Linked DNA regions of Homo sapiens: all the other regions are linked to region 1. The links are contacts of gene promoters, found by promoter capture Hi-C in blood cells and fetal thymus (Javierre and others, 2016). All regions are on one chromosome and are shown on one strand. The core of a region is centred on a gene start or on the middle of the fragment in contact, and the rest is flanking DNA. Distances in the headings are between cores, read along the strand shown. Region 1 holds the start of INTS12 (integrator complex subunit 12). Region 2 has its middle 32 kb from the start of TET2. Region 3 overlaps TET2 (tet methylcytosine dioxygenase 2). Region 4 overlaps TET2 (tet methylcytosine dioxygenase 2).

Region 1 (7,568 bases), core at 2,333-4,832:
GGAGGTGAGCAGTAGGCAAGCGAGGGAAGCTTCATTTGTATTTACAGCCACTCCCATCACTTGCATTACTACCTGAGCTCTGCCTCCTGTCACATCACTGGTGGAATTAGATTCTCATAGGAATGCGAATCCTATGTGAACTGTGCATGTGTGTGATCTACGTTGTGTGCTCCTCATGAGAATCTAATGCCTGATGATCTGTCACAGTATACCCCATCATCCCCAGATGAAACCGTCTAGCTGCAGGAAAGCAAGCTCAAGGTTCCCACTGATTCTACATTATGGTGAGTTGTCCAATTATTTTATTATATATTACCATGTAGTAATAAGAGAAATAAAGTGCACAATAAATGTAATGCACTTGAATCATCCTGAAACCATGTCTTCAATGAAACTGGTCCCTGGTGCCAAAAAGGTTGTGGACCATTGCTCTACATGATTAATAATACATATAAAGCAGTTACAACAGTACCTGACACATAGTTGACACTCATTAAATGTTACCTAGTATCTTAGGCCATTCTCACTCTCTCTGTTATAGCTATCTGACTTATTTCAAGTCCTCCAATATACTCTTTCTTACCTTAGCACTTCAGTAGAAAGTGTGCCACCCCCACCTCCATCTTAAGTCACCTCTCAAGTTTCAGTTTTTCCTGCACATTCCCTCAACAAAACTAGAAGTTTCACTGTTACATAGCCCAAAAACATTCTGTACTTATTTGTAATATTAATCACACTGTTAATTATGTAAATAATCTTTCTTTCTCATTAGAATGTAAGTTCCATGAAGGCAGGCAGTGGATTGGTCTTGCCTACTGTTGTAACCCCTGTCTGGCAGAGTTCCTGGAAAACAGCAAATAACTGTAAATGTTGGCCAAGTAAATACTTGTTATCTACTTCCAATTTCATAAAACTTTCTCTTCCCTTGAGTTCTGTTATACTCAACTTTTCTGTTTTTCCTCTTCTATCTCTGACTACTCTTTCTTTGGCTTATCTTCTTTGTTGCTTTTGGTATTGTCCAAGTATTTGTCCTTGGCTATCTTCTTAGTTCTGCTAGCAGTTTCTTCTTGGTAATCTTATACACATCAGGTTTTCAACTATCATCTCTGGGTAGATGATTTAATATGTTTTACCCCAACTTCAATCTCTTTTTTTTTTTTTTTTTTTTTGAGACATGGTCTTGCTCTGTCACCCAGGTTGGAGTGCACTGAGATCATGGCTCACTGCAGCCTCGAACTCCTGGGCTCAAGTGATCCTCCTGCCTCAGCCTCCCAAGCAGCTAGGACTACAGGCATGCACCACCGTAACCATGCCCAGGTAATTTTGTTGTTTTTTAAGTAGAGCCAGGGTCTTGCTATGTTGCTCTTATCTGGTCTCAAACAATCCTCCTGTTGTGGCTTCCCAAAGTGCTGGGATTACAAGTGCGAGCCAAATCTCTTAAATTTGAATCCCATGTTTCCAAATGCTTAGTGTATGTGTCTATGTGATTCCTTAATGGCATCTCAAATTCAGTTACAACTAAAATTGAGATTCTGATTATCTTCCCGAAAAGTTCCTTGTCCTGCTCTTACTTTCAATAAATGACACAACTTTCTTTTAGTCAGGTTTGAGACCAAAGTCTTTCCTTCACTGAGTCTTTCCCTACTCCTTATATTCAAATAATCAGAATTCCTGTGGATTCTGACGGCAATATTTTTCACACTTGTCCTACTTTTCACTTCCACTGCTACTACTGAAATTCAGGTTTTATTAGCTTACTTGAACTATGGCAATAACCTCGTTATTTTCCTTGACTTCAACATTGTTGCCATATGAATTTTCCTGAAACCCAGTTTTCTTCTTTTTCATTAAAATAAAAAAAAAAATTCTTGCTGAGAAGTTAGGGCTTTCTACCACCTTCGAAATAAAGACCAAATTTCTTGGCCTAGCATTTAAGAAGATTCAGTAACTGGCACAAAAATTATCATTCATCATCCCCAGATCTGCCTTATAGCTAGCTGACCCTGCCACTCTTATTTTTTTTGTCCAGGAAGCTCTTTACCTATTTTTATATATCTACATCCTATCAAGACCCTATTCAAATACTTCTCATGAAGATTTGACTGACAGCTGCTGTGCCCCTCTCCATTCCAAACCCTATTAATAGTCTCTCCATTCAAGGATATCTCATAGTGCTTTTTCATGGTATTGCAACTTTCTCCCTTGAAGCATTTTTTTTTTTTTTTGGCACAAGTGTTATGTCCCCTACAAAACTCTGAGTACTTTAAGGGCAGAGTCTATATTTATCTTTTTGCCTATCTCTTTGCCACTTTGCAAAGTACAACAAAATAATGGCTATAGAATTACTGGAATTAAGTGATCAAAGTATAGTGGTCTTATCTCTCCTTCTACACAATTGTAGCCATTTCCAAGGTCCCTTCAGCAAAAATCACAAAAGTAACTCACCCCTGCCCCCACAAAAAAAACTCCAAACATCAAAAAAGCAAAAGCAAAGCAATCACCTCTTTCACGACTGGGGACTTGTAGTACAATGTTCCTATCTGTAAAATTCTCACAATCTTTCGCCTGTCTTGCTTAATTCATTAATCCCACTGGTCTGTAAACTTGATGACAGCAGGAACTTGTTTTGTTCACTGTTATTTCCCTAGTGCTTGAAACTTAATAAGGGCTCAAAAATATTTATCGAATGAACGAACTAGGTTTTTTGCGTAAATGTCACCTTATAAGGCTTCTGTGATCTCTCCAGTCTAAATTGGGCATTCATATATAAATATAAGTATGTGCTTTCTCCTAGATCCATTTTTCACCCTACCTGGCAATCTCAAAAGAAGTCCAAAGTTGATCATATGCACGTGCCCCAGATGAAGGAAACAGAAACTGTTCACATAGAGTGCAGTATTATCGTTGCCATTTCATAATGGCTCTAAAAAACTTTGTTCTTCATGACTTCGCAAGCTCTTGCAACCCCTTCCAATAAACATTATTTTAAAGATGCTGCCTTTTTCATTCCTCCACTGAGTTCTTGGTTCTGGATAACACTGATACCTTAGGGACACCTGGAATCGCAGGAGAAAAGGCTCCGATTCCAAACCAATCAAGTGGCTGAAAGCTGACAGCAAACACTTAGAAAAGGAATGTCAATCCTTTGATCAAAGCATCACACATCGAAGTCCTAGAATGGGGGATGGTCCTTGACAGGGGAGCCAAAAGATGAGAGACAATGAGGGAGCTACGTAGAGAAGTCACTAAAACCCTCCGACAAAGTCCGAGGCAGGATTCCAAGTCCCTTGTCCCTAGACCTAGAAATATGCTCGGTCCGCATGTCCCGGCCCGCAACTCCCTCGGAGGAAGCACAGTCCTCACTGAAAGGGGAGAGCAGTCAGTCTAGGGCACGCAACCGCCCGTAAATTATGATTCCCCTTGAGGAGCGAGGAAACTAATACCCCACGTAGCTACTCTCCCACCTCGCTCCTGGCGCGGGGGTCTCGAGCCTCCAGGAGGCCAGGAGCAGAGTCGCTCAGCATAACTCACCGTTCCGCCCCGCCCTGCCGATCCGTCTGTTCCCGGTGGTCCCTTCGGAAACGGTTCCCGCACTGGCCGGCTCCGAAAGCAGGAAAACAAAGGTTCCCACAGTAGGGGCGGGGGAAACGTTTGGCAGTGCGACAGTAGGAAGTGACGTTACTTCCCTTTTTCCGGTCCGCCGGATTATGAATGACGGCCGGCGCGAGTATTTTCCACATAAGGTGGCTGTCGTTTTTCTCCTGGCGTCTGTGGAGGCGAGTGGTCTGCGGGCAGCAGCTCCCAGAGGCAGCCTTGGAATTCCAGCTCGGACTGGGCGGGAAGGCGCAGGCGGCCCAGGTCGCCGACACGCTCACGCACCCTCCCTGCCTGGCCGCGCCTCTGCGACCAGGTAAAGAGGGCGCTCGGGCCGCCGGCTTCTCAGCCTCCGCGACCCCCTAAGAACTGGTCTTTTCTTCGGGGGTCTGCAGGGCTGAGGATGCGGGGGAAGGGTGGGAAGGACAAGGGCGTGGTATCATCGTCCTGATTTTTCTCCCGCCCTGGGGCCGCCTCAAACTCCTTTTTGGCCACTCCTGCTGAAGGTGCGGGTTGAGGGCTCTGGGCTTCTCGGTAGTACGCGTTTCCCAGTTTCCCCCTAGCCAGTCCCTCATGTCTTCCTCTGCTGATGGAGAAATGGGGCAGCTTCCAGTTGGAGGCGTTGGTTGGGGTGGTTTGATATTTGCTGTTAAGTGTTACTTCAAGACCTCTTGGGTCACACTAACTTCTCTTCTCTCTTTGGCATTGAGTTTTCCATTCCAGCCCTTCCTGATTGCAGAAAGCAGTTCTATGTGAATACTACTTAACATTTACTCCAAAGGACTTGCTTCATTTGGGGCCATTTGCTTATGTTTTGTCATCACAGCAGTATCTCTTGGGTTTTTAACTTCTATAGAAAGTTTAATTTGCATGAAAGTTGCTTTGGTTTCAAAAACGTTTGCTAATACACGTACTTCCCATCCCAACTTTCTACCTGGTTTTGGGATGAGATGACTTGTTTTTTTCCCCTTTATTCTTAATGCCAGGATCCCATTCCTTGTCATAAATTCTTGAATATCAAGAAAATGCCAGCTTTAGTAATATATTGTGTGCTACATTATTGATAAAGAAGGTGGTGTATTTCTATTTTACCTAAGCTTATCTGTAAAAACAATGTTTACAGGAGAAAATGCAAAAGCTAGCAAGAACTAGTGATGTGATAATTTTAAACATGTAAACATAGTCATTTAAATCCATGATAATAAACTGTTATAACACAACTAAGTGATTCGCTGTCATATTTAATAAACATTAAGCTATGCGGGTTTTTTTTTCTTTTTTTTTAACTGCCTGATGGGGAGCATACACCACTGAGAGGATTGCTTTAAGCACACTCATTACTAAAAATTGTGTTTGTATTACACCTGAAAGTATCGTTTTGTGAGGTCTCACTTCAAAAATAAGACTGAAAAGGTCAATGAGATTTGAGAATCATCATTTCTTTTTATTTTATATACTTTGCACTTCTACGTGTTTTTGCTTTAATTTAAACACAGCTCAAACTTGAGCTTCTGTAGTAGTGGGCCCATCAATTTTTTTTTTTTTTTTTTTTTTTGAGCTGGAGTCCTGCTCTGTCGCCTGGGGATGGATTGCAATGGCAACATCCGCCTCCCGGGCTCAAGCAATTCTCCTGCCTCAGCCTCCCGAGTAGTTGGGATTACAGGCGCCCACAATCACACTCGGCTCCTTTTTTTTTTTTTTTTTTTTCAGTCGAGGAGGGGTTTCACCATGTTGGCCAGGCTGGTCTCAAACTCCTGACCTCAAATGATCCGCCCGCCTCGGCTTCCCAAAGTGGTGGGATTACAGGCGTGAGCCACCGCGCCCGGCCTGTTTTTGTTTTTTTAAACTTGTTTTACTTGTAGCTTTTGTTTCATCATCTGTGATTTTTAAATAAAAATAAATACTGAGTATCCAATTAGCTTTTCTAACAAAGAATAAATACTTGGAATGCAGATATTGAAACCATTTAGATTAAAACAAGCACAGGTATTGTTTGCTGTGAAAATTCAGTAATTTTATTTCATACTTGGTAACATGTTAGCCATTTGCGCTGTCGATCACTGTTAATTATGAGGTCGGGTTTAGCTGAAGGCATTATGACTCCATGGCAACAGATGATTCCCTGATTCTCCAGAGAGATTACACACTTCGTTTGTGGCTAAGGTTACTGTAAGCTTTTCACTTAAAAACTTTTCCTACTTCTTTACCAGATAAGAAAACAGCTAATTTTAATCACTGGCTTTTGTTCTCTAGGACTTAACTGCATCCCATATTACGTATTTAATGAGCTTGAAAAAATCTCAGTGTTTTTCTTATCGTTTTTGACCCTAAATATTTAAGGTAATTGGCTGCTATCTATCTGTTGAGGGGCATGTTTTTTTGTTTTGTTTTGTTTTGGTTAAATCTATATTATTGTAATAAAATAGGGTACAATTTTCAGCCAAATACTGTTGTTTTATGAAAAGCATAAAACACAAGATAAGTTATAAAATTCAAAATGTTGAACATATGATGTAGGAGAGAATTTAGGCAGGTTTAAATTTTAATCTTTAAGAAAAGTAAGTGTTTGTGATTTTTCATACTTATAAACTGTGTTGAACTTCTTATTTTGTACAATAGGTTGATATGCACATGGATTAAGGGTTTCACGTTTATATTTTACCATTTCATGATTCCCTGGCTTTCAGCCTCAGTAACAAATATGTTTTTTTTCAGTATTTGGTTGGGAAAAACTTTTCAATCAATATAAATCCTTTACCTTTCATGGAAAGAAGCTTGAAAATATAAACCATAATTTGGGTTTTGCCCATCAAGGTTTGCATATTTTAATAGTGCCAGTTGATAAGGAATTTGGTTATAAATTATAAAGAAATAATAGTAGCTAGTATTTATTTAAGGACTTAATATGTGACAAGCTTTTTTCTGTATGGCACACTACATGGTAGGTACAGTTATTATTGTCTCCATTTTATTATATAAGTGAGGAAACAGATATGCAGAAAAGTTTTTTATAGCTACTAAGAATCAGAACCAGTATATTTGCACCCAGGTGGTCTGGCTCAACAGTCTCGGCTCTAATCTATTACTTTATAATTCTTGTTTTATAAATATTCTTGCTAGGCACATGTATGGAATCTAGTTAAGATTCTTAGTTCCTTTGCCCTGGATATAAGTATACATAAAAACTTCTGTGCTTGCTTTATTTATGAGTTTGGTTAGATTCCATTTATACTTTTCCCGATTCACCTCACAAAGGTGATCTTATTTCTTCATTTTAATTTATACTTAGTTGGTCCTTAAAATAGAGTTATTAATTTGGAAAAGAAAGAATGGTGTCATGAAGAATGAGATACACATTGTACCAAGACTAAAGTTATTAATAATACTCTCAGACAGTGATTTCTGACATTCATATATGTACATTCATTCCTTGAACTAAAGTTTCAGTTCATTAAGCACTGGAGATGTTATAGTGTTAGGTGATAAGAGCTATGAAGAAAAAGGGAAGCTAGGTAAGAGGCTAGGGTGTGCTTTTTCAATTCAGGCAGTCAGGAGAGGCTGTTCTGAGTTAATATTTATGCAGAAAAATCAATGAAATGAGGGAGCAAGCCCTGTGAATCTCTTGGAGAAAAGCATTCTAGGCAAAGCAATAGCAAGTACAAATATTCTCAAGTGGCACCTTCCAAAAACAGCAAGGACAGCTATGGCTGGAAGGGAGTGAAGAAGGATAAGAGATGAGGTCAGAAAGGGATAGCTAGGGTCACAGTAGGCCTATAGGCCATAATAGGAAATTTGGATTTTATTTTGAGTGTGCTGAAGAGCCATTGGATGGTTTTGAGCACGAGACATCTGATTTATGTTTTTAAGGATCACCCTGTTGTTGGAGAATGGACTGTTTTATGGAAAGTGGAGGAAAATAGTTAATAGGCTTTTGCAGTAGTCCTTGTAAGCACTGGCGATGACTTAGATTAAGG
Region 2 (7,568 bases), core at 3,539-6,038, 590 kb before region 1:
AGTGTCCATCAACAGGATGAAAATGACTAAACACATTATGGTATATCCACACAATGGGATACTGTGTATCTATAAAAAGGCATAAACTACCAAAAAAAAAAAAAAAAAAAAAAAAAAAAAGAAAATATCTGGCCCCTAGCAGATATTAGTAACTTAGTTCTGTATAGAGAAAAATGATTTCATAATCATAGACGATATAAACTATGGACAACCATCTTGCCAATTCACATTGGCAAGAAGAAACAATGTGATCAACCAATGTAACTGTGAATAAAATTTCTGGGGAAGTCTCACCAGAAGTGGCAATCCTATTAGAATGGAAGATATGGCACCTTTGTGATTTGGGGAAATTTTCAATATGAGGCAAAGTTAGTTTGGGATGTCTATTTGCATTTATTGACTGGGTAACAATAAATAAAACATTCAAACCCATTTGTGCCTCAGTTTCCATATTTGTGAAAGAAAAAGAATGGCCTTTGTGTTTGAAGCTCTTAAAATCAAGAGAGACAGTGTATCACAGTGGTTAGGTACACAGCCCTGTGCATTCTGATTCTTCCTGTTACTAAATGACCTTAGAAAAGTTACTCAAACTCTTTGTGCCTCCAGTTTTGCGTTTGTAAAAAGGAATGATAATATATCAACTTTTAGGGATATTGTGAAGATTAAATTAATGAATGCATGTAAAATGCTTAGAACAATGTCAGGTACAAAGCAATAATTCAATGTATGTTAGGTCTGCAGCAACAGTCATCAAAGCAAGACTATCTTTTTAAACCAGATGCTATACCTTAATTCTTTGTTCTTAATTCTTTGTTGTCACATATTTCCAAGTGCTTTCCAATGAGTTCTTCTATATCTCTGAATATTATTTCCAGGAAAATATTAAATTGAAACACAGTGAGAGCAAAGAATATATGCTGAACTGAAAATCAGGATATGGGATCACTTGAATTTTCCCCACCAATTGTGACATTAGTAACTTGGGCTCTCGGTTTCCTCATCTGAAAAATAATGGAAGTAAATTAATTATGTCTAAAGCCCCTTCAGCTTTAACATTCTTTCAAATAAGACTGTATTTGGTCTTATTATCCTGAAATAATTGGAATGACATTTTACAATAGCCATTCTCAATATGCATATTTGCTTAGGTATGTTAAGCTCTTTTTTTTTCTTTTAAACCTCAAATTCAAGGTTTGTGTCAACTAAAATAGACAAAATCTTATGAATGTTGAACCAGGAATGTGACAAAATGCATTTTTCCACCATAGAGTCAAAGTTAGCATAATATACTTTATCTAAATGAACACATTTTAGTAAAAGTAAAGTTCTGATTTAGGGCAACTTGGAAAATGAGAATTTCAGTTAAGACCTGCCTAAAGGAAAGGAAGCTGAGGAAATGAGCGAGAGAACGAGTATAATTCTTAAAGGAGAATTTAAGTTACACTTTGGAAAATACTTGTAAAAACAGAGTTGTCTTTGCAGGGAGCACATCATCTTGAGGGGAGGTGCTACAAAGTTAGAAAAAAGACAAATAACACCAAGCAAATTACAGTTTTTAAAAATAGTATTATCTCAAGGAAACAGATGAGAGCCTACAGGGAAGGGGAAAAGTTAGTAAGAAAAGAAAATAATAAAAAATATAAAACAAAAAGTTGTCCCAAAAAACTGATGAAAGAGAAAAATAAGGAAATAGCACGGAGATATGAGAGGAAAAAGACATAAAAGAATGACATACATGGAGTCATAGTGTCAAAAATACATTGATCTGACAGTCAGAAAGACAGCTTCCATATTCCAAAAAATAAGGTGGGGGTGGAGGTGGGTTGGCATAAGGAAGAGCCTAGAATGTTCAAAAATATGAAAGACAAAAAAGCTAGGAAACTGTTCTGATTAAAGGTGACTAAAGATAATACATAACCCTTGATAGAATCCTAGATTGTAAAAAAAAAAAAAAAAAAAAAAAAAAGACATGGAGACAATCAGGGACATTTGGATATGGATGGATTATATATTAAATAATAGTATTATGTTAATGATAAATAGTCTGAGTGGCAATGGTATTGTAGTTATATGTATACATACATATATATAGTATGTAGGTTATATATATATGTCTTATTATAGGAGATAGAGATATATGCTGTGGTATTTAGGGGTAAGATGTCTGCAACTTACTCTCAGCCTTTTCAGGGGGAAAAAACGTAGTATAAGGAAAAGGAGACAAAGTAAATATGGCAAAATGTTGACAATTCATGAATGTAGAGGGAGAATCTACAATGTTCATTGTCCTATTCTTGTAATCTGCCTGTAGGATTGCAGTTTTCAAAATAAAAAGTTTCTCAAAATTAAAAATAACATAAAATCTTGCAATAAATAAATTCCAAAGCTGTTTAAAAAAAGCAAAAAAAATTATGTAGCATAAGCTACCTTGCTCAACCCTTGTCCATCATCCTTCTCCACTACAACTTCATCAAAGAGAGAGTGTGTAAAACCAAATTATTACTAATTATTGATTAGTTCTGCAAATAAGAACCCTGAATTCTTTAGAGGTTAGTGCTCTTCTTATCATTAGAACCACAACAGTTCTCTACTGCCAGTCTGGACAGAAGCAGTTACTTTGTGGTATCTATTGGGTAACATTGAGAGGAAGAAATGGGAACCTCTAAATGCAAATTAAGCCTGTGGTTAAAAAAAATTAATTAAATAAAAAAATAAGCTAACGCAGGAGAACTTTTTTTGTCTCACTAAGATAGTTGTGTAATATCTTGAGTGGACAAGCAAGGAGGGGTAATTTAACAGATATAGCAATGTGTCTTGTGTGTTAGGCATATATGGTGGAGAATAGACTGGTTTTGGTAGTCTATCTCTAAAAAGAGAAGTATAGGTAACTGAATGTGTTTTAATTATTTGAAAGATTTACTTCTCTAACAATCTAAAAACTGAAAACCTTTAAAAGGAACCCTACCTAAAAGAGGAGGATTTTTTCTTAATGAGGAAGCATTCTATCATTACATTCAGTTTAAAATTACAATGAACAACTCTGGCAAATATGAAAAGGGATGATGCTCCTATACATTGGTGGTTTCAGCATAAATTGGTACAATATTCCTGGTAAATAATTTGGCAACAGGTTTCAAGAGTCACAAAAATATTCTTATCTTTTGATCACTTTTTATCTTAAGAAAATAAAGAAAACAAAAGAGAAGAGTAAGAGAAAGGGAAAGGGAGGTGAGAGGAATGAAGAAAGGGGGATGGAGGGAGAGAAGGAGGGCAGGCAAGCTGTGTATAGATGGTCATTTCAGAATATTTATAGTTTAAAAAAGAGAAAGGAAGAAAGATGTTCAGCAATAATGACATGTTTATATAATGCACATCAATATAAGCACGTATAATATCTTTCAAGCCTTAAGACTGAACAGGAAGAAAAATGCTAACATAGCGATGAGTGGAGTATATATAATTAAAAATGGCATCCATTTGATGATTCATCTATGTAAAGTCATGTAAGCATAAGGAGAAGGTAATTTGTTTGATTATGAACAGGATGGAGTGAGGTTTATCCTTTTTTTTTTTTTTTTTTTTTGAGACAGTCTTACTCTGTCGCCTGGGCTGGAGTGCAGTGGCGTGATCTTGGCTCTCTGCAACCTCCACCTCCTGGGTTCAAGCAATTCTCCTGCCTCCATCTCCCAAGTAGCTGGGATTACAGACACCCACCACTACGCCTAGCTAATTTTTTATATTTATAATAGAGAAGGGGTTTCACCATGTTAGCCAGGCTGGTCTCGAACTCCTGACCTCATGATTCGCCCGCCTCAGTCTCACAAAGTGCTGGGATTACAGGCATGAGCCACCTCGCCCAGCCGGTTTATCCTTTTAAAGTCCCCATTGCTATTGTTACAAGAGTAGAGTTTAGTTAATTGCTTTCTATTTATGACAGGGCATGGAGTGCAGCAAAGTCTACCAAACTGAATACAGTTTTGGAGTGTCGACAAAATATGAATTTCCTCTTCACTTCTGCAGACTATCCATATGAAATTATATTTAATCTGTATAACTAACTCCTCAGTCTATTCTGCTGTAATAAAGCATCTTTTCAAGAAATGAAAATAATATCTACATGATTAGAAAAGCTGTTTATGCCAATTTGATGAAGCATGTATTTTAGGTTTGCACCTATATAGTGTGGTTTTGGAACTGGCAACACTTCTATTTCCATCTGTCATTTAAAGCAAGCTTGGTTTAGAAGAGCCACATAGTGTGCTAAAGGTTAGAACAAAGACTCTAGAGCTAGGTCAATCTGGGTTTGAATCCCTTACATGCCTTCTAGTTGAGTATCCTTGGACAAATTTCTTAATATCTCTCTGCACTTCCATTTTCTCATCTGTAAAGTGGGTAGAAAACTTATGCCTACTTTATAGGGATATCATGAAGATTAAATGAGTTGATGCATATGAAGTTCTTAATACAGTACCTGGCATGCAGTGATGTTAGCTGATCATCAGGGATTATTGGTTCTCTTTAACCCACTGCTTTTATACAATGAACAGTTAGTTCTAAGGGTGATCAAATTAAAGCACATCTTTTAATATTGTGGGGCTTGGGTCTATATTTAGACTCATTTCCAGAATAGTCTCATGGCCAGAATTTAGACGCAGCCAGAATAGTCAATGGCTAATATTTTTTGAGGACATCTTCAGTGCCATAGTTCTATCATCACATATTATATAACAATGTAATATTAGTGTTGTGGGGATATTTTTTCAGGAAAATTATGTAAATTTATGTCCAGATATATTACTTTTTGAATTTCATAGAACATATATGATTGAAGGGAAGCTGAAGAGTAAATTTTGGTTTTCTTGAAACCACTACTGAAAAGAGTTCACCTCCATAATGCCTCTTGCTATATTCCTATTATTCAAGGTCTATCTAGACTGCCCCAGAAGATTTTCAGACATTTTAGGTAATCTACACTTCTTGGTTTTTCTAGAGAAGTCAGTCGGGGAATCATGGGAATTAATCTAAACTTCTTACAGGAATTATTCTAATTTTCTAATCCAGGAAGGTGAGAATGGACCAGGAAAACTTCTTAGTAATAAGCAGAAAGAATTTGGTGCTAAGAAAGAAGTTAAGTACACAGATTGCATTCTGTTTTTATTTACCAAGCAGTCCTGAACATTTGTAATGCACAAAGCTGTATACAGGCACAGTATAGAAACAAGTTGCACCATCTTTGCTCTCAAGTAGCTTATACTTCACATGACAAAAAGATATGCATGCACAAATATATAGCAAACGAGGAAATGCATATAAAATATCGTCCTATCAAAGCATGATTTTGAATAAGCTTTAAATCCTAAAAGATTCATTCCAGCAAGTATTAATAGTATTTTGGTTCTCATTAGTTCTACCAATAACTTGGGTCTTGAACTTTCAACACTTCATTAACTGAAAGAAGAGGCTGGGGTAATCACTGTTGCAATAGCATGACTGCTATTTTTTTTTCTCTTGCAGCCACCAACTGATAGCTACAAAACTGCACTTCCTAGAGACATGTTGAGAGAGGTTCAAGGCTCAACAGAACTTACCCTTTTGCTGTCAGAGGTACAATTAGATGTTTGATGTAGCTCCCAGGTTAATTACAAAGTGAGCATTACATTAGATTAATAAATGCTGAGGTTGATGCCCTTGCAATGAGGGAAGACAGTACCGAATAATTCAGCTCACATTTTCTGGTCGGCACTTATCAATGTTAGTTATTTGGCAGGTCAGCCTGACCTGGGTTATGTCACAAAAAGCCACATGGGGCAGCTGTGGAAGCAAATCAGTGATCCTAGCTCAAGGGTTGTACAAAGCATTTTGTGCACATTTAACAAGTTCAAGTACCATTCAATACTTGATGGTACTTGAACCATCCAATACATGCTGGTTTTTCCCTGGGATTAAAAGTAAATATGTTTTTCCACTTTTTAATTGGCCAAATATTTTATTGAAACATTTAATTGAAAGTAATCTCCAAAAGTATTTCCAAGTTCCAGGAATTTGAACAGTATGCTGATAGAATAAAGGAGGCTATTACTGTAAAACTTCTTTCAGTATATATAACCTATATCCACAGTACATCAGAAAGCAACTCTGCTTGAGCATATAAAAAGTGATGTCTAAGTAGGAAAAAATTTGGCACTAGGCCAGGTGTGGTGGCTCACACCTGTAATTCCAGCACGTTGGGAGGCAGAGGCGGGTGGATCACTTGAAGTCAGGAGTTCGAGACCAGCCTGGCCAACATGGTGAAACCTCGTCTCTACGAAGATAACCCAAAAATTAACCAGGTGTGGTAGTGAGAACCTGTAATTCCAGCTACTCAGGAGGCTGAGACATGAGAATCGCTTGAACCTGGGAGGCAGAGTTTGCATTAAGCCGAGATCATGCCACTACACTCCAGCCTAGGCGACAGAGCAAGACTGTCTTTAAAATTTTTTTTTAATTGGCACTTTATTTTATTATAACAATAGAAATGACAGTACAAAAGTTCATCTTTTCTAAATAGAACAATGACTAGCATATTGTAAGGTCTTGATAAATATTCCTTGAATAAATCTTTGGCTAGCCTGAGAAAGTAGAATTCATTTGGCATTTATACCTAATATTAATTTCCTGATGATTTACACAAATATTTTAGGGTCAAGTTTTGAAACCCCAATAACCTAATTCCTTACTATTCCACAGTGTGGTCCACAGACAAGCACCAATATCACCTGGGAGCTTGTGAGATCTGCAAAATCTCAGGCCTAATTAATCAGACCTGCTGAATCAGAATTTGCACATTAAAGTTTGATAAAATCTCTTTCAAAACTGGTGAAATAAGGCCGGGCACAGTGGCTCATGCCTGTAATCCCAGCACTTTGGGAAGCCGAGGTGGGTGGATCACTTGAGATCAGGAGTTCGAGACCAGCCTGACCAACATGGTGAAACCCTGCCTCTACTAAATACAAAAAATTAGCCGGGTGTGGTGGCGGGTGCCTGTACTCCCAGCTACTCGGGAGGCTGAGGCAGGAGAATTGCTTGAACCTGGGAGGCAGAGGTTGCAGTGAGCCAAGATCGCTCCATTGCACTCCAGCCTGGGCAACAAGAGCAAAACTCTGTCTCAAAAATAAATAAATAAATAATAAAACAGGCGAAATAGTCCTAAAGTTAAGATCAAAGCCCTCTTTAAATAGAGAAACACAAGGGAAGTAGATCTTAAAATATGGTAATGGAACCAGAAAGGATGTTTGGAAAGTGCAAAATATTACTTGCATATGTGATGTGGCAGATACATACTGTCAAATGTTCATACCCAAGTAATTATTGTGACTTTGAGTGAGTTCCTCAACCTCTCTTGCAGTTATTTGTAAAAGAAAAAAGGCAAGTTCGAAAACTTCTAGTTCTAATGTGACTTTCCTCTTGTCTTCAAGTGCTTTGGGTCTTATTTCCCACAAATTAACAGAAGCATCCCTTTCACCCTACGTCATACCAGTTTGGCCACTGTGTGTGCCTCTTGTCCTAATTTTTACCTAGCCCTCACCCTA
Region 3 (7,568 bases), core at 1,402-3,901, 550 kb before region 1:
AAAAATACAATGAGTTTAATTTACTACTGACAGATTTTCTTTAATTTTTTTTGCATTGTTATAATTAGTCATGCCTTAATCCTCGGGGTTTTTGGGAAACTATATTTAGGGGTTAAAAACTTAGTTATTGACATTGTAATTTTTCTCAGTATTGGTAAGAATTCAGGTGTTTAAGGAATGGAGTTTACTTGTTTTCTGTTCACAAACCCATTGTAAAAGATATAATGAATGTAGATGAAGGTGAAATCCGAGATAGGAAGAGAGGTAAAATGCTACTTTTTTTTCCTTCACCCAAGGAAAGCCATTGAATACTGAATGGGTCATGTTGTAATTTAATTGGGTGTAAATTATAACTTTGTAAATCATTTGCCTACTTAGTGTATATCTCTGGTTTTTATGTAATTCATCTCCCATAATATCTCAGTTTACACTGAAGTAAATAAGCAAGCAGGAATAAGTCCTGCAAATAGAGGAAGTAGAAAGTGCATTCAGAATGCATTGCTGAAATTGTAAAACTGATCCTAAATTGAATTAGGTAGAGCAGTTAATTTAGATTACAAGAAATGCAACAGGAAAAAAATATTACAGTTCTTCCTCTTTTTTGGAAAAAAAAAAAGAAAGAAAAGACAAATAAATCACCCTTAGTTAGTGATAATTCCTTGACATCTGTATGCTCATTTTTAGGGCCAAAAAATAGTAGGCTTCTCTTTGGAAATTGTAGACGCTTTCTCTCCTTCCAGTTACACGCGGTCACATCAACATTTGACACGTGGGTACCGTGCACGTGGCAGCAGTATTTACAAACACCATCCTAGGATTCCAGAGACTCTTATGTAACAGTGGAGAGAGTAAGCTTTGAGTGTCTGTGGGCGGAGGAATCAACACAGTTTAATTCATTGTCCGGGAGCCCTTGTCTGGCTCTGATAGGGTCATGAACCAAAGATCAAGGTGTTTAGGTCAGGATATTCCCTAACGCATGGTTTTCCTACCAAAGCCTCAAAAGCTGTGCCTAAATACAAGATTAATCTTTTTCTTTCTTTCTTTCTTTTTTTTTTTTTTTTTTGAGACGGAGTTTCGCTCTTGCTGCCAAGGTTGGAGTGCAGTGGCGCCGCGATCTCGGCTCACTGCAACCTCCGCCTCACCGGTTCAAGCGATTCTCCAGCCTCAGACACCCAAGTAGCTGGGATTATAGGCATGCGCCACCACGCCCGGCTAATTTTGTATTTTTAGTACAGACGGGGTTTCTCCATGTTGGTCAGCCTGGTGTTGAACTCCCGACTTAAGGTGATCCGCTTGCTTCGGCCCCCCAAAGTGCTGGGATTACAGGCTTGAGCCACCGCGCCCAGCTAAGATTAATCTTTTTATGCCCTGCAGCAAACAACTAGTCATGCCAAACCATTTTTGTGATTTGGGGAAACATGAGCAGATGATGCTTTGGATCTGATTATAATTCACAGTGCTCTTGTAATTTACGTGAGATTTGCATACCTGCCTCCCAGCCTCACAAAATGCCTTTAAAAAATTACATCTTGGCCAGGATGGCTCACGCCTGTAATCCCGGCATTTTGGGAGGCCAAGGCGGGTGGCAAGAGATCGAGATCATCCTGGCCAACACGGTGAAAACCCGTCTCTGCTAAAAATACAAAAATTAGCTGGGCGTGGTGGCGGGCGCCTGTAATCCCAGCTACTTGGGAGACTGTGGCAGGAGAATCGCTTGACCCCGGGAGGCGGAGGTTGCAGTGAGCCGAGATCGCGCCACTGCACTCCAGCCTGGCGACAGAACGAGACTCCGTCTCAGAAAAAAAAAAAATCTTGATATTTGTATGCATCTTAAAAAGCAAGAGAATTCATGATTGACTTCCCAAACTAAACGGTCTGACCAGAAAACACTCAAGAAAACTCTTGGTTAATCATGCTCCTTAGTATACCATTATACCTGCCTCTCCCCTTTCCCCATCCTCTGTAAATTCTCTCAACCTTCTCTCATTTTTAATTTCATACCAAGACCTAGAGCTAAAACAACAACAACAAAGCTTTAAGTCTCTATATTTAGGGAATGTGCCTCCTATCCCAAATTGATTTTTAGAGCTTTTCATTTATTTTTATCAATACAAAGCAAGTTGAAATAAAAAAAAAGGCATCAAAAATTTAAATGTCTAACCACGTATATTTGGTATATGTATACTGGTGCTATGTATTAGCTGTAAGCAGACTGGTTTGAATATTTAAAATATGAACAGAATTTGAGTTCTTTTTGTATTGCATCTAAGGATCATTTGAGATGGATGTCATCATTTATCATCCAAAATAGAAGCCTTCTTGCCTAACAAAGAATTGTAATTAGATCATCAAAGATGAAATTTATAGTAATTGAAAAGTTAGCTCATTTGACTGCTTCTTTCATAGACTGTGTTTTTGTAATTACACTACCTTTCTAAAGATAGGAAAAATCAGAGTCTCTGAAATGTAATACTATAAGTGAAATATGTATTTTTTAAAATAAAGGATCTTTTCCCAAGAGCTAAACCAAGCACCAAATCTGTTTTTTGGGGGTTTTTTGGTTTGTTGGTTTGTTTGTTTGTTTGTTTTTGACAGAGTCTCCCTCTGTCGCCCAGGCTGGAGTGAAGCGGAGCGATCTGGGCTCACCGCAACCTCCGCCTCCTGGGTTCCAGCAATTCTCTGCCTCAGGCTTCGGAGTAGCTGGGATTACAGGCACTCGCCACCACGCCCGGCTAATTTTTGTATTTTTAGTAGAGGCGGGGTTTTACCATCTTGGTCAGGCTGGTTTTGAACTCCTGACCTGGTGATCCACTCGCCTCAGCCTCCCAAAGTGCTGGGATTACAGGTGTTTTTCTTTAAGTAATACTTGGTATAAGAGAACTTTATATCTGGAATAATTTAAATATTATCTGACCGAATCTATTATTCACATATAGAAACTCAGGTTTTAGCCATTTAACATCTAAAGCTGTTCTCATTTAGAGGAAATTACCAAAAGAGTGACTTATTTAACTAACAATAAAATCTAAGGATAGATATTTTTTCATTCTGTTGCAGAGCAAAAGCAGCCTTCTGGATATGAAAAGATATTACTTCTTTAGTGTTTATTACTTATAATTTATTGTACATTTCTGATACACTGAATTAAGATGCGATGAGAGTAGGTTGTAGATTTTTAAAAGTTCTTATTTGCGTGATTTATCTACTTGCTTTTTTAGTGTCGGACTATAAATGATGTATTTCTCTCAATTATCCTCGGCCTAAATAGTAAAAGCTTGGGTGAAATTACTTATGAGTATACTTTTCCTGCACAGAGCAGAGCCATTACTGAACACTCTCGAGCTTTAACAAAAATCATCCTATCTTATATTAGAATATTAATATTTTCCCTCTTTCTCGGACCTTTGTTTCACAGTAAATCATATATGGATATAAGCTGCAAGTGCTCAGAATTTGATTAAGGCTATAAGTTAATTTCTACTAAAAAAGGGATTCAAATAGAACTTTCATTTGGCTGTACTGTAGTTTCACTTGAAGGGGCAAGCATGCAATAAACATTGACTTATTCAATGCATAGGCTGTCTTCATAAAGATGAGACTGAGTGACAGTTGTCTGTGTATTATAAAATATCAGAATGGTAGATTGAATCTGATGCATACCAAGGAGCAATGTGGAAATTTTAGGCTGTTCGTCTTTTTTCAGTTACTACTAAGTGTGTGTATGTGGTGTGTATGTGTTTTGAACTTTTCATATTTAAGCTGAATCCTCTTTGGTAGAAATGGTTAAATAGACTATAGTAAAAGTTTCTGTCTATAAATATAAAATGAAAAAATACTGATATCTTGCATTTTCCCTAATATGTTGAAAGTGCACAGAATCCTTGGGGTCTTTTGTATAAACTGTTTTTATATGGTTCCTGTAGAAGACAGCTGAGGCACCAAACACACACACAAAACAAACAGCTTGCTTGGTGATGATAACATTCGTGCAAGGGAGTTCTCTCTTGCATAGGAGTCCCAGGTTACCCTAATGCCTTCCCACATGGTCAAACACATGGAGCTTTCATATTTACACACAGCTCCAGAATTCTGAAGCCTGCAGTTGTTTATCAGTGGGATACAGGGAGAAAGAGTGGTGTCTATCTTACTAACTGTTTAATGACCTGGATCATGAATACTGATACAGAATAAGAAAGCACTGGCCTGACTGCAGGGGAAACATGGTAGATGCCTAAAGGAGGCTTTTCCCTGCCCCACACTGTTTATTTTAAACTATCATTATCACCTGAAAGGAGCTTTTCACTTTGAACTTAAAATAGTAGCTTTTAACCCTGACAAGCAAGTAGGCACTTTAGTATTCAAGAACTGAAGGTGACAAGCCCTGAGGAGTGTTACTCTCTTTCATAACCAAGCTGACTCAAACTCTTTTAGAAGCTAGTGTAGTAACTTAACCATCTCTAATAATGTTGCTGCATGCCTTCATAGAAACAGTTGGAGCAAGAGCTGCATTTTCTTTTTTTTAAGTGTTTATTATTTACATTTTATTTTTGAAAACATGCCATTCCTATTACATATAGAAATACTTCCCAAAATCACTGTTTGTATAGAACTATTTTGCTTAACATTAGGATTCTATTGAAGAGCCTATATCTGCAATAATACGGGGAGAAAATCCCCTTTTGTGTGATAGATTAATGATAAAGAGAAAGAAAAGGTGAGAAGTAATTTTGGGAAATATGCAATGATAAACTAGTGGTATTTATTGAACTAAACACCAGCAGCTGTGCTTAGCATGGATAATTGCCTAAAAGGATGAGAAAAAAAAGTAAAAATCAGGAGACTATAAATTTTTCAGTGAAGAATAAATTTTCTGTCACAAATTATGAACATTTTAAATATGTATTTTAAACTTTTTCCTACTTGTAACAAATTATCAGACTTTTTAATCTACCTTTTTTGAGCTTTTCATCTTTTTCCCTGAATTATAGATTTAATTCTGTGTATGTATGTGTGTGTTTGAATATATTTTTATATTTTAGATCTAGATTTGTAAACTAGAGCTGTTTCTAACTGCTTATAAGACATTGCCACCTGGATTGCCACCACTTTCACTCCAGTATTTCAATAAACACTTCATCAAAAACATAGTTTATTTTCAAACATAGAATCATGGATTGCTACAAGCTGAAAGGACTTTAGAGACTCAGTAACCCCATTCCTTGCATTTACAGATGAGAAAATGGAGGCATGGGAAAGTAAAGTCAGTTGCCTCAAATAGCGTAACAAGCTATGTATATTTCTAATAATAGCTACTATTGATTAAGTTCTTATGTTGGGTTAAGTACCATGCTAAGCACTTTCCAAAGATTATCTAATTCTTATGTCATCTATATTTTTGTTGGTGCTATTACTCTCCTCACTTTACTAAGGAAGAAACCAAGACATGGGGTTAAATAACTTCCCTATAAATTTTGAATTATCTTTGGCATCATCTCCCTATTTGCAAATCTCCATTGTCTCTTTGTTCGTAATCAATGTAAATCAACTCTTAAACAGTTGGATGCCAACAAGCAGTCTGGTGTTTGGAGCTCGAAAGTTTCGAGAGAGAGAGAGAGAGAGAGAGAGAGAGAGAGAGAGAGAGAGAGAGAGTGTGTGTGTGTGTGTGTGTGTGTGTGTGTGTGTTCCAGCTTTGTTGAGGTATAATTGACAAGTAAACAGTCCACAAAACTGTACACATTTAAGAGATACAGTGTGATGTTTTAATATACATTGTGAAGTGATTATTACTATCAGGCTAATTCACATGTCCATCACCTCTCAGTCATTTTTTGTGTTTACGGTGAGAACACTTAAGAGCTACTCAAATGTAGTCAAGGATACCATACAGTACTAACTGTAGTCACCATGCTGTACATTAGATCTCCAGAATGTATTAAATATTCATCTGGCATAACTGAAACTGTGTATCCTTTGACAAACCTATTTCCCCTACTACCCAGCCCATGGCAACCACCATGTTACTCTCTGCGTTTATGAGTTCGACTTCTTTAGATTCCACATATAAGTGAGATCATGCAATAGGAAGATCTAATTTAGCATCCTGACTTTCCTTTTTATTAGCTGTGTATGTCATATTCAGGTTGCCTTAGCATTTGTGAATCTGCTTCTCTACCTGTAAAATGAGAACAACTAATAATTCTTATCTCATGGATTACTGAGAGGATCAGATGAAGTAACATAAATAAAACATCCAGCATGTTACTTGGCAAAATTGTAGTGATTGAATAAATATTTGTTTATTCTTCAAGCATGTGTTGAGCATCTATGTATCAGGCAAGAAGAGAGCCATCATCTTTACCCTTCTGGAATATACAGGCTCATAGGAAATAATCAATGCTTTGATCTTTTTTTAAAGCATAATGAGATGAAAATTATAGGACTCATAGACTGGTCAGTTGAGGAATTTCCCAGGATGCTTCCAGCCTCTGCTCAAAAGGTGTGAATTCCCAGTTGCCTGAATAGGCGCCAGAGTTGGCATAGCTTTCTCAGTATTGGGACCTGACAGGGAGATTGCACAAGTGTAACAGCACAGCCTCTGAAGATTGGCTCAAGGGGGAAGAGATGAAGGATTACTTCCATCCCTTTTATTGTTTCAATCAAGATATATATTATGAGCTCATAGTACCATCCTTTCATGATCATCCTTTATTGTCTTTATTAGATACAATGAAAAGATACAAATTTGTCCATAGAAATATTAAATGATAGCAGGCATGATTTAAAAAGTACTAAGGACTATAGATATTACTGTTTTTCCTCTATTTTGTATCATATTTTCAGGAAGAAGAGACAACATTTTGGCATACCTTGCTTAAAGATAGATGATAGCCGGGTGTGGTGGCTCAGACCTGTAATTCCAGCACTTTGGGAGGCCGAGGCGGGCAGATCACCTGAGGTCAGGAGTTTGAAACCAACCTGGCCAACGTAGAGAAACCCCGTCTGTACCAAAAAATACAAAAATTAGCCAGGCGTGGTGGTGGGCGCCTGTAATTCCAGCCACTCAGGAGACTGAGGCACGAGAATCACTTGAACCCAGGAGGCAGAGGTTGCAGTGAGCTGAGATCGTGCCATTGCACTCCAGCCTGGGTGACAGAGGGAGACTTCGTCTCCCAAAAAATAAAAATAAAAAATAATTGTCTTGGTGTGCTAATCAGGAGCTTCCTGTGAGAGTGGAAATTCCTTACATGGCAGTGTCATGAAATTTTAGGCCCATGTGAAAGATGTTTTTGAGTGTCTCAAAATAGTTAACGGTTTAAAAATACATTATTTATGTGTCAGAAACTGCTTTCATTGAAATTGAAGTTTCTTTGAGAACTAGGATCATATCATGTATATCTATTGAATTTCCCACAACAATTATCACGCAAGCAAATGAATAGCAGACCCTCAATAACACTTACTGATGATTATTGCCATGTATAAGTTGGGATACTCTTGAGTACCTTTCTAAGTCTGCATTTAGGGAAATACAGAACACAAAATGAAATGTTTGATTGGTTGCTTAGTTT
Region 4 (7,568 bases), core at 2,857-5,356, 520 kb before region 1:
GCATCCTTAGATGAAGATATTTGGGCTATAAATAATTTATGACATAAGTGATTTAAAAATTCATTCTTTCCATCCATTTTGAAGAAATTGTAAGGTAGGGTTCATGTATACCTAATACTTATCCCCCCAAAATACGAAAAATAAAATCATTTTTAAAATATCTGGGTTAATGCTATAGATTGGAAGCAGTTTTTAAAAAGCACTTAAAGTCTACCAGTTTATTGATCCTCAATCTGTGGCTGTTTTAAATGGATGCAATTAGCAGTTCAGTCTAAGAGAACCATGGTAGTAGACTCATTACTCCCCAGAAACCATTACATCATTTTGTAATATTAAATTACTAAATATAAGGAATAGAATATATATTGTAAAAATTGCTTTGGAATCAATAATAAGTATTGTGGCTATCAATTATAGTTATATATTACAATGTAAGGGATATCCTTTTATAAACTTAATATCACACAAGTAGACTTAGAATAATTCCATTAATATAATTTTGCTTGTGTTTTTATACCTATTCATTTCAATAACTCTTTTTCCTATATATATTTTTTATCTCAAATTCGATAGTATCTAAATCATGGAATCATAAAACCTTAAAGCTGGGTTGGAACAGAAATAATACAATTTAACATCTTATAGGCTCTCTAGTCCTCAGTTTCCCTAAGTGATCGGCTCAAGATCATGAATTTATGGAGGATTAGAGTCAGAATTAGAACCCAAGATTAATTTATACTTTGTTATCTCTTCTACAGCCTACCCCCTTAGTTTGCCTGTGGGTTTATGGAAGTTACAGGAGAGACATTCTGAGATTCAGCTAAAAACCTAGCTCCCAATAGAATTATTGCCCTGTAGTCAGCCGCGCAAATACAATCACAAATACCTGAAGTTCCTTGTGTGAAGAAAAAGAAAATGACTATTAAAGCATCAAAATCAATGCAAGTTACCTTTCTTTGCCCCTTTCTTCCCCTTTCACTCCTTTCTTCTCCTATACTACTTGAAATTTCTAGCGGGGATCTCTAAAATGCCTGGATGTTAGGAATGGTAAGTCTATTGTAGAGAATTATATTTTCTATTTTAGTGGATGAAAAATAAACCATACCCTTAAGAGGCTTTTCAAAGTTAAGATTTTGAGCACATCCTTCATTGGCCCAGTCTCTGACCAGTGAGGTCAAGTATTAGCCAGTGTCAGAATGTCGTGAAAAGTTTGTGTTTCAGATGCAGAATTTTTTTTTGCATTTTCTGTGTGATGTTTATAGGGTATTTTCTTCTGAAATGTTTTCCATCTTGGTTTTTAAAAATATCTATTATTTTAAAAAATATTCCCTCATAACTTCTTTTTATTTTCGGAAACTATATAAATTGATCTGATAATCTATACACAATGCCTTGTGAATTTATACCTGTACCTCTCATGTTCCAGTGTTTGGTTCTTAAATAATCACTTTGTATAATGGAAATACTATGTTAAATTGTTTATAACTGGTGGTTGATATTTCAGCCTTGTTTGGCTATCGTAGTTATATAAAGACTGTTAATTAGAAACAACCTCATATGGTGTATGCTTGTTTTTATCTTCATGGAATTTGTTCTGCAAACACTGAGTTCTTTACTGGGAGTCACCACTTTGTCTATGTTAGGAGGAGCAGGAAGTGAATACATTTAAGGTCTTTAATTTTCTTCTTAAAACTTTGACTACTGTAGTGGTTTTTTAAAGCATTAACAGGAGAATAGCCATCACTGCCAAGTAGCTGACATTCTGAAATAGCACTTCCCTTTAGGCACTGTACAGTTGGAATCATTTACTTGCAGAGAGGTGTGTGTGTGTGTGTGTGTATTTATGTGTGTACTCATGTGTATAAGAATAGGAGAAACACTTTGTGGGCATATCCTGCTGAGGTGAGTAACGTGCTGATTAGTGAACTCCAGTCTCATCCCATTTAAACCTGGAGGAGAACCACATCAAGCACAGAAGCAGCCAAAGCAGCATTTCAACAGGAAGGAAACATCTATTACTGGGGCTTTGAAGAAACATGCCATGAAGGTGTACTAATATCACAAAGGGAAGGGAAGGACTAAATTCAGCATGATAAACAAAGTCCCTTTTTTGTAACGGAAGTGTTTGATGATGTTTGATCAATGGTGGATCTATCTCTTGAAAGGAAAATGCATTTAAACCCCAAATGGAGGATTCTTATATAAGGTGCCTAGCTTGTAATGATATATTCATGTTTATAGGTAGAGTGACTGGTTTTTAGAGAAGAGGTTTTTTTTTTTCCTTCATTTTTGAACGAAAACTTGTCTGTCTCTAGGCTTTGAAATGTAGAATTATTTACCTTTCCCCAAAATGAAATGTTTCACTGAATCTCCTACAAGCTTGTGGAGGCCATGAAGCATGTTGAATAAGAGCACAGGCTCTGGAGGCCCTGCCACCCACAAAGGGTGTGCTAAGGTAAACAACTGATAGTATTTTGAAAATTAGATGACTTAGAATCCATTCAATAAATTTTAGCTATTTTTATTGTCTTTTTTTTCTAAATCTATTTGGAAAATATTGCAGATAAAGTAGATAATACCTTTCTAAAACACAGTGAGACCAGGCGCAGTGGCTCATGCCTGTAATCCCAGCACTTTCGGAGGCCGAGGTATGCGGATCACGAGGTCAGGAGATCGAGACCATCCTGGCTAACACGGTGAAATCCCGTCTCTACTAAAAATACAAAAATTAGCCAGGCGTGGGGGCATGCGCCTGTAATCCCAGCTACTCAGGAGGCTGAGGCAGGAGAATGGCGTGAACCGGGGAGGCGGAGCTTGCAGTGAGCCAAGATCGCACCACTGCACTCCAGCCTGGGCTACAGAGCAAGACTCTGTCTCTAAAAAATAAAAAATAAAAATAGAACAGTGAATAGTTTATAAAGATAAAATAGAATAGGCTTCAATTTAGGGAACAAAGGAAAATATGTTTAGGAATGATATTATGCTCAAAATGATTGCAACTTTGATGGTGAAGTGTATTTTATTCAATTAAAAATGTAGATATGGCTGGGCGTGGTGGCTCACACCTGTAATCCCAGCACTTTGGAAGGTTGACGCAGGTGGATCACTTGAGGTTAGGAGTTTGAGACCTGCCTGGGCAACATAGTGAGACCTCATCTCTACAAAAAATAAACAAAAAATGTGCTGGGTGTGGTGGTACATGCCTGTAGTCCTAGCCACTTGGGAGACTGAGATGGAAGGATAGCTTGAGTCTGGGAGGTCAGTGCTGCAGTGAGCCGAGATCGTGCCACTGCACTTGAGCCTGGGTGACAGAGCAAGACCCTGTCTCAAGAAAACAAACAAAAAAACAAAAACAACAGTAGATATGTGTGTGGGAATGAGAACATTTAAATGTGCTCATCGGCTTAGATTTTTCTTTAACCCCCTTCATGGCCCTTATCTTAACCTCTGTCTTCAGCACTACCCTTCATATGTTTGTTCCGTTTTATCTTCTAAGTGATTTTTTTATAACTCTCAATGTATCATGGCAGAAGGAAAACTCAGTGTATAAGCTGACTGTATTTTGCATTTTCTTTTTTTTTTTTTTTTTTTTGAGATGGAGTCTCACTCTGTCACCCAGGCTGGAGTGCAGTGGTGCGATCTCAGCTTATTGCAACCTCCGCCTCCTGGAGGCGATTCTCCCGCCTCAGCCTCCCCAGTAGCTGGGACTACAGGCTTGCACCACCATGCCTGGATAATTTTTATATTTTTAGTAGAGACGGGGTTTCATCATGTTGTCTAGGCAGGTCTCAAACTCCTGACCTCAAGTGATCCACCCACCTTGGCCTCCCAAAGTGCTGGGATTGCAGGCATGAGCCACCGCGGCCTGGCTTCATGATCCAAAATAGCATCATTAAGCTTCTCTTTCAAAACATGTATATAAGCCTGTGAGTCATCACTGTATTTATCAGAATATTATCATATTGGAGACTTTGCAAAGCTGAACAAAGCCAGAATTATTGGCTACTGAGGAACTATATTCTAGCAAGAGACTATTCTATTTGTTGGGGATCACCTCTTTTTACTAAAGGGGACTGTTTTGGGCATATAAAACTAGAATTCATGGTTTCTCCTTGATAGTTTGCCAGCTTGATTCCCAGTCAACCAGATAACTGCTGGTAGTGACACTCATGTCCTCCAGGACTCCCAATCTTGTGCCAGCTCAGAGAGGGAAATCCCCCTAGAACTGCTCACACCATTCCAAGAACCACAAGCACCACCTTGGTATAGTTAAAAATGTGATACCAACTCAAATTCTGATAAAAACAAGTTCTATAAAGCTTAATAAAGTTATATTTTTTACTTTTTAAGTTTTGTTTTACTATTTTAAACAGAAAACAGAAGGTAAAAACTCCTCTGCCTTCCTCAGTATTTGGTTTGTCAGTTGCTGAACTCAGATTTAAGAGTCTAATCATATACAGGCAATAACCCTCTTCTAATCTTAATAATGTTTCTTTGATCATTTCTTTAAAAAGAAAAATGAAATAGCCTATTGACTCCAACCCTGACCTCCTGTACTTCACCTGCCTGATGAATATTTATTTGGAATACATAAGTTTTTTCAAATGCATCATGTCAAGAATTTGTCATTTCAGATTCCTTTCTAGAATTATCTATTTATCTCATTAGTAGCATCATTCTTTCAGACAACCAAACTCAAAAGCTTTATCACTATAATTGAATTTCTTTTTTCTTCTTACATTTAAAATGTTACTAAATGCCATTCATTTCTTTATCAGTAATATTTCTGTTTGATCATTTTATTTCATTTATTCTGCCACCCTCTCATTCCAACTATTGCTTATACTTGAGTACTGCAATAAGCCAATATCTTGCATATGATTATTTATAACACCTAAATCTTCTACCACTTCACACTCACTGGGATGGATATAATTTTTAAAACATACAATAACAGGTGTTAGTGCGGATATGGAAAAATTGGAACCCTGACACATTGCTAGTGGAATGTAAAAAGGTGCAGCCACTTTGCAAAACAGTTTGGCAGTTCATCAAAAGATTAAGCATGGAACTACCATAAGACCCAGTAGTTTCGCTCTTAGGGATTCCACTCTCAAGAGAATTGAAAACATATGCCCATACAAAAACTTATAAACATTGTATATCCATGTTTGTTGCAGCATTATTCACAATAGCCTAAAGGTAGAAGCAACCCAAATGCCTACAGATGGATGAATGGATAAACAGAATGTGGTATAGACATACAATGGACTATTATTCAACCTTAAAGAGGAAGAAAATTCTGACACATGCTAGAAAATAAATGGATCTTGTATACATTCTACTAAGTGGAATAAGCCAATCACACAAAGAAAAATATTATGATTCCACTTACATGAGGTACTTAGAATAGTCAAATTAATAGAGGCATACAGTAGAATAATGATTGCCAGGGGCTGGGAGGAGGAGCAAATGGGAAGTTATTGTTTAATGAGTATAGAATTTCTGTTTAGGAAGATGAAAAAGTTCTGGAGATGGGTGGCAGTGATGGTTGCACAGCAATGTGAATGTACTTAATGCCACAGAATAGTATACTTAAATATGGTTTGAATGGCAAACTTTGTTACATACATTTTATCACAATTAAAAAGTTTGAAATGAATATCCAAAGAAGCATTATTTATGAGGCTAAAAGTGGAAGTAACCCAAAAGTTCATCATTGATAGCTAAAGGAAACATGGCATATCAAAACAGTAGAATATTAGTCATACAAAGGAATAAAGTACAGACACATGCTGCAATACAGATGCACCTTAAAAACATTACACTAAGTGAAAGAAACCAGACGTAAAAGGCCAAATTTTGTATGGTTTTATATATATAAAGTCGTTCAAAATAGGAAAACCCATAAAGACTGAAAGTTGATTAGTGGTCACCAAGGCCCGGGGGAGGAATGAATGAAAACTGGCTCCTAATGGGTACTGGGTTTTTTGGGGCGAGGGGGACAGAGTGATGAAAATATTGTAGAATTTGATAGTAATGATAGGTGAGAGTGGCATAATTTTTTTTAATATACTAAAACCCACTGACTCATATACTTTACAAGGATGTATTTTATGGTATGTGAATTATATCTCAAAACACCCCTTAAATTTTAACGTATGGCTTTTATGATGCCATGTTTCTAAAGAAGCAACGTGTCCCAGTCTCAGCTTACTATTTCTAGGCATGTGACTTTGAGAAAAAATTAAGAGACCTCCCTTCTTACTCTGTAAAATGGGAATAATAATAATGATGATAATGATAATAATAATGATCTTACCAGATTTTTTTGAGTGTTAAATGAGGTAACATATGTAGTGCATCTAGCATAGTGTCTGGCATTTACCAAGAACCCCGGGAACCTGAGCTTCAACTGCTTCTGATACTATTCCAGATACTATTTCAGGATATTCCAATACTGTTTCCATATATTCAGGACAATGGACCAACTCCTTTAGCCATTTTATCAAAACTCTTTAGATTCTGTTTCAAATCGGTCTTTCCAAAGTCTTCTTGTGCTCCTTTGTAGACACTCTTCAGTCAGAGAGAGCTTTTTAATCTCCTCCAATTTGCTGCAGCTGTATCTGTGCCTCAAAACAACGCTTTCTCCCCATTCCTCTTTTCTCTCTGCCCTTGGAACTCTGTGGACTTCTCTCATGTTTTTAACCTACTCCCTTTTATCAGTGCATGTCATCTCCACTTATTTGTAGCACCCAATATTTTTACTACATCTTTGACCAATTAAGTCTTACTTGGGTTATGTTTTTAAAGTAGGTATCTTATTAGGTGGTCCTTTTAAAGTATATGTCCAGTCTCTCCAGCTAAATTAAAACCCTTGAGCACAGAGACCACATGTTATAATGTTTTACCTTTTCCATAGCACTTAGCATGTTACCTTGACATGGCATATACTGAATGAATGCTTGCTATTTATGAGTTTAGTTAGTGCCACATCTCATGAAGTACAGGGACTTAATGATTCTCAATCCTGACTTCATCTTACAGTCACCTGGAGAATAAAGTTTCCTCTTAGCTCAACAAGTCAGAATCTCTGAGCAAAATCCTCAACTTCTTACCTAGGTGATACTCTTGTAAGCCACACTGTGAACCACTGGATTCAACAGATGAAGTAATATAAGCCACTGGCTCTTAAGCCTCATTGATTATTGCGGTGAAGATGTGAAGACTAAAGATGCTTTGGGCATGGCAAAGTGTTCTACAGATATTAGAATTGTTATTATGGTACATTTGAGAGTGTCATTGCTTTGAGAAAGATTCTCTAAGTTTTTTAACAGCCACACTGTAATGGAAATATCCAATTATAGGTATCCAAAACCTTTTAAACTCTTTATATCAGGTGTATATACCCTGTTCCTTTTTGCTAACTTAAAAATGTTCAAACTCTGTCTTCTCTAGGCTGGCAAACATTCAGCAGCACACCCTCTCAAGATTGTTTACTTGCCTTTGCTCCTGTTGAGTTACAACGCTTGGAAGCAGGAGATGGGCTCAGCAGCAGCCAATAGGAC

Evidence for each region. The method cuts DNA at HindIII sites, captures the fragments that hold promoters and counts their contacts. A CHiCAGO score of 5 or more calls a contact.
Region 2: a contact is called between a fragment that was not itself captured here and the fragment with the promoter of INTS12 in region 1, in 5 of 17 cell types (naive B cells, total B cells, total CD4 T cells and 2 more). The highest score is 6.9, in naive B cells.
Region 3: a fragment that was not itself captured here is called in contact with the fragment with the promoter of INTS12 in region 1 in 8 of 17 cell types (total CD8 T cells, total B cells, total CD4 T cells and 5 more); the score reaches 10.1 in total CD8 T cells.
Region 4: a fragment that was not itself captured here is called in contact with the fragment with the promoter of INTS12 in region 1 in 4 of 17 cell types (total CD8 T cells, total B cells, naive B cells and 1 more); the score reaches 6.6 in total CD8 T cells.

Annotation. Positions count from the first base shown.
Region 1 is chr4:105,705,107-105,712,674 of GRCh38, forward strand. It overlaps INTS12 (integrator complex subunit 12), which reads right to left and starts at 3,583. Exons shown (of 8, transcript NM_020395.4): 1 at 3,532-3,583. GSTCD (glutathione S-transferase C-terminal domain containing) reads left to right here and starts at 3,678. Exons shown (of 12, transcript NM_001370181.1): 1 at 3,678-3,910. It overlaps LOC124900747 (a long non-coding RNA gene), which reads left to right and starts at 1,276. Exons shown (of 2, transcript XR_007058214.1): 1 at 1,276-1,317; 2 at 2,795-2,990. LOC124900748 (a long non-coding RNA gene) reads left to right here. Exons shown (of 3, transcript XR_007058215.1): 2 at 208-284; 3 at 773-868. RefSeq lists an enhancer at 3,658-3,907. The HindIII fragment of the contact is 4,662 bases long and covers 28-4,689 here.
Region 2 is chr4:105,111,315-105,118,882 of GRCh38, forward strand. No RefSeq gene overlaps it. Among named protein-coding and RNA genes, the nearest start is that of TET2, 32 kb to the right of the region's middle. The HindIII fragment of the contact is 1,114 bases long and covers 4,232-5,345 here.
Region 3 is chr4:105,158,207-105,165,774 of GRCh38, forward strand. The region is part of intron 1 of TET2 (tet methylcytosine dioxygenase 2); the gene reads left to right. The region is part of intron 1 of LOC124900868; the gene reads right to left. Among named protein-coding and RNA genes, the nearest start is that of TET2, 15 kb to the left of the region's middle. RefSeq lists an enhancer at 3,840-4,548. The HindIII fragment of the contact is 1,241 bases long and covers 2,032-3,272 here.
Region 4 is chr4:105,182,902-105,190,469 of GRCh38, forward strand. TET2 (tet methylcytosine dioxygenase 2) reads left to right here. Exons shown (of 11, transcript NM_001127208.3): 2 at 7,459-7,568. The region is part of intron 2 of TET2-AS1 (TET2 antisense RNA 1); the gene reads right to left. Among named protein-coding and RNA genes, the nearest start is that of TET2, 40 kb to the left of the region's middle. The HindIII fragment of the contact is 422 bases long and covers 3,896-4,317 here.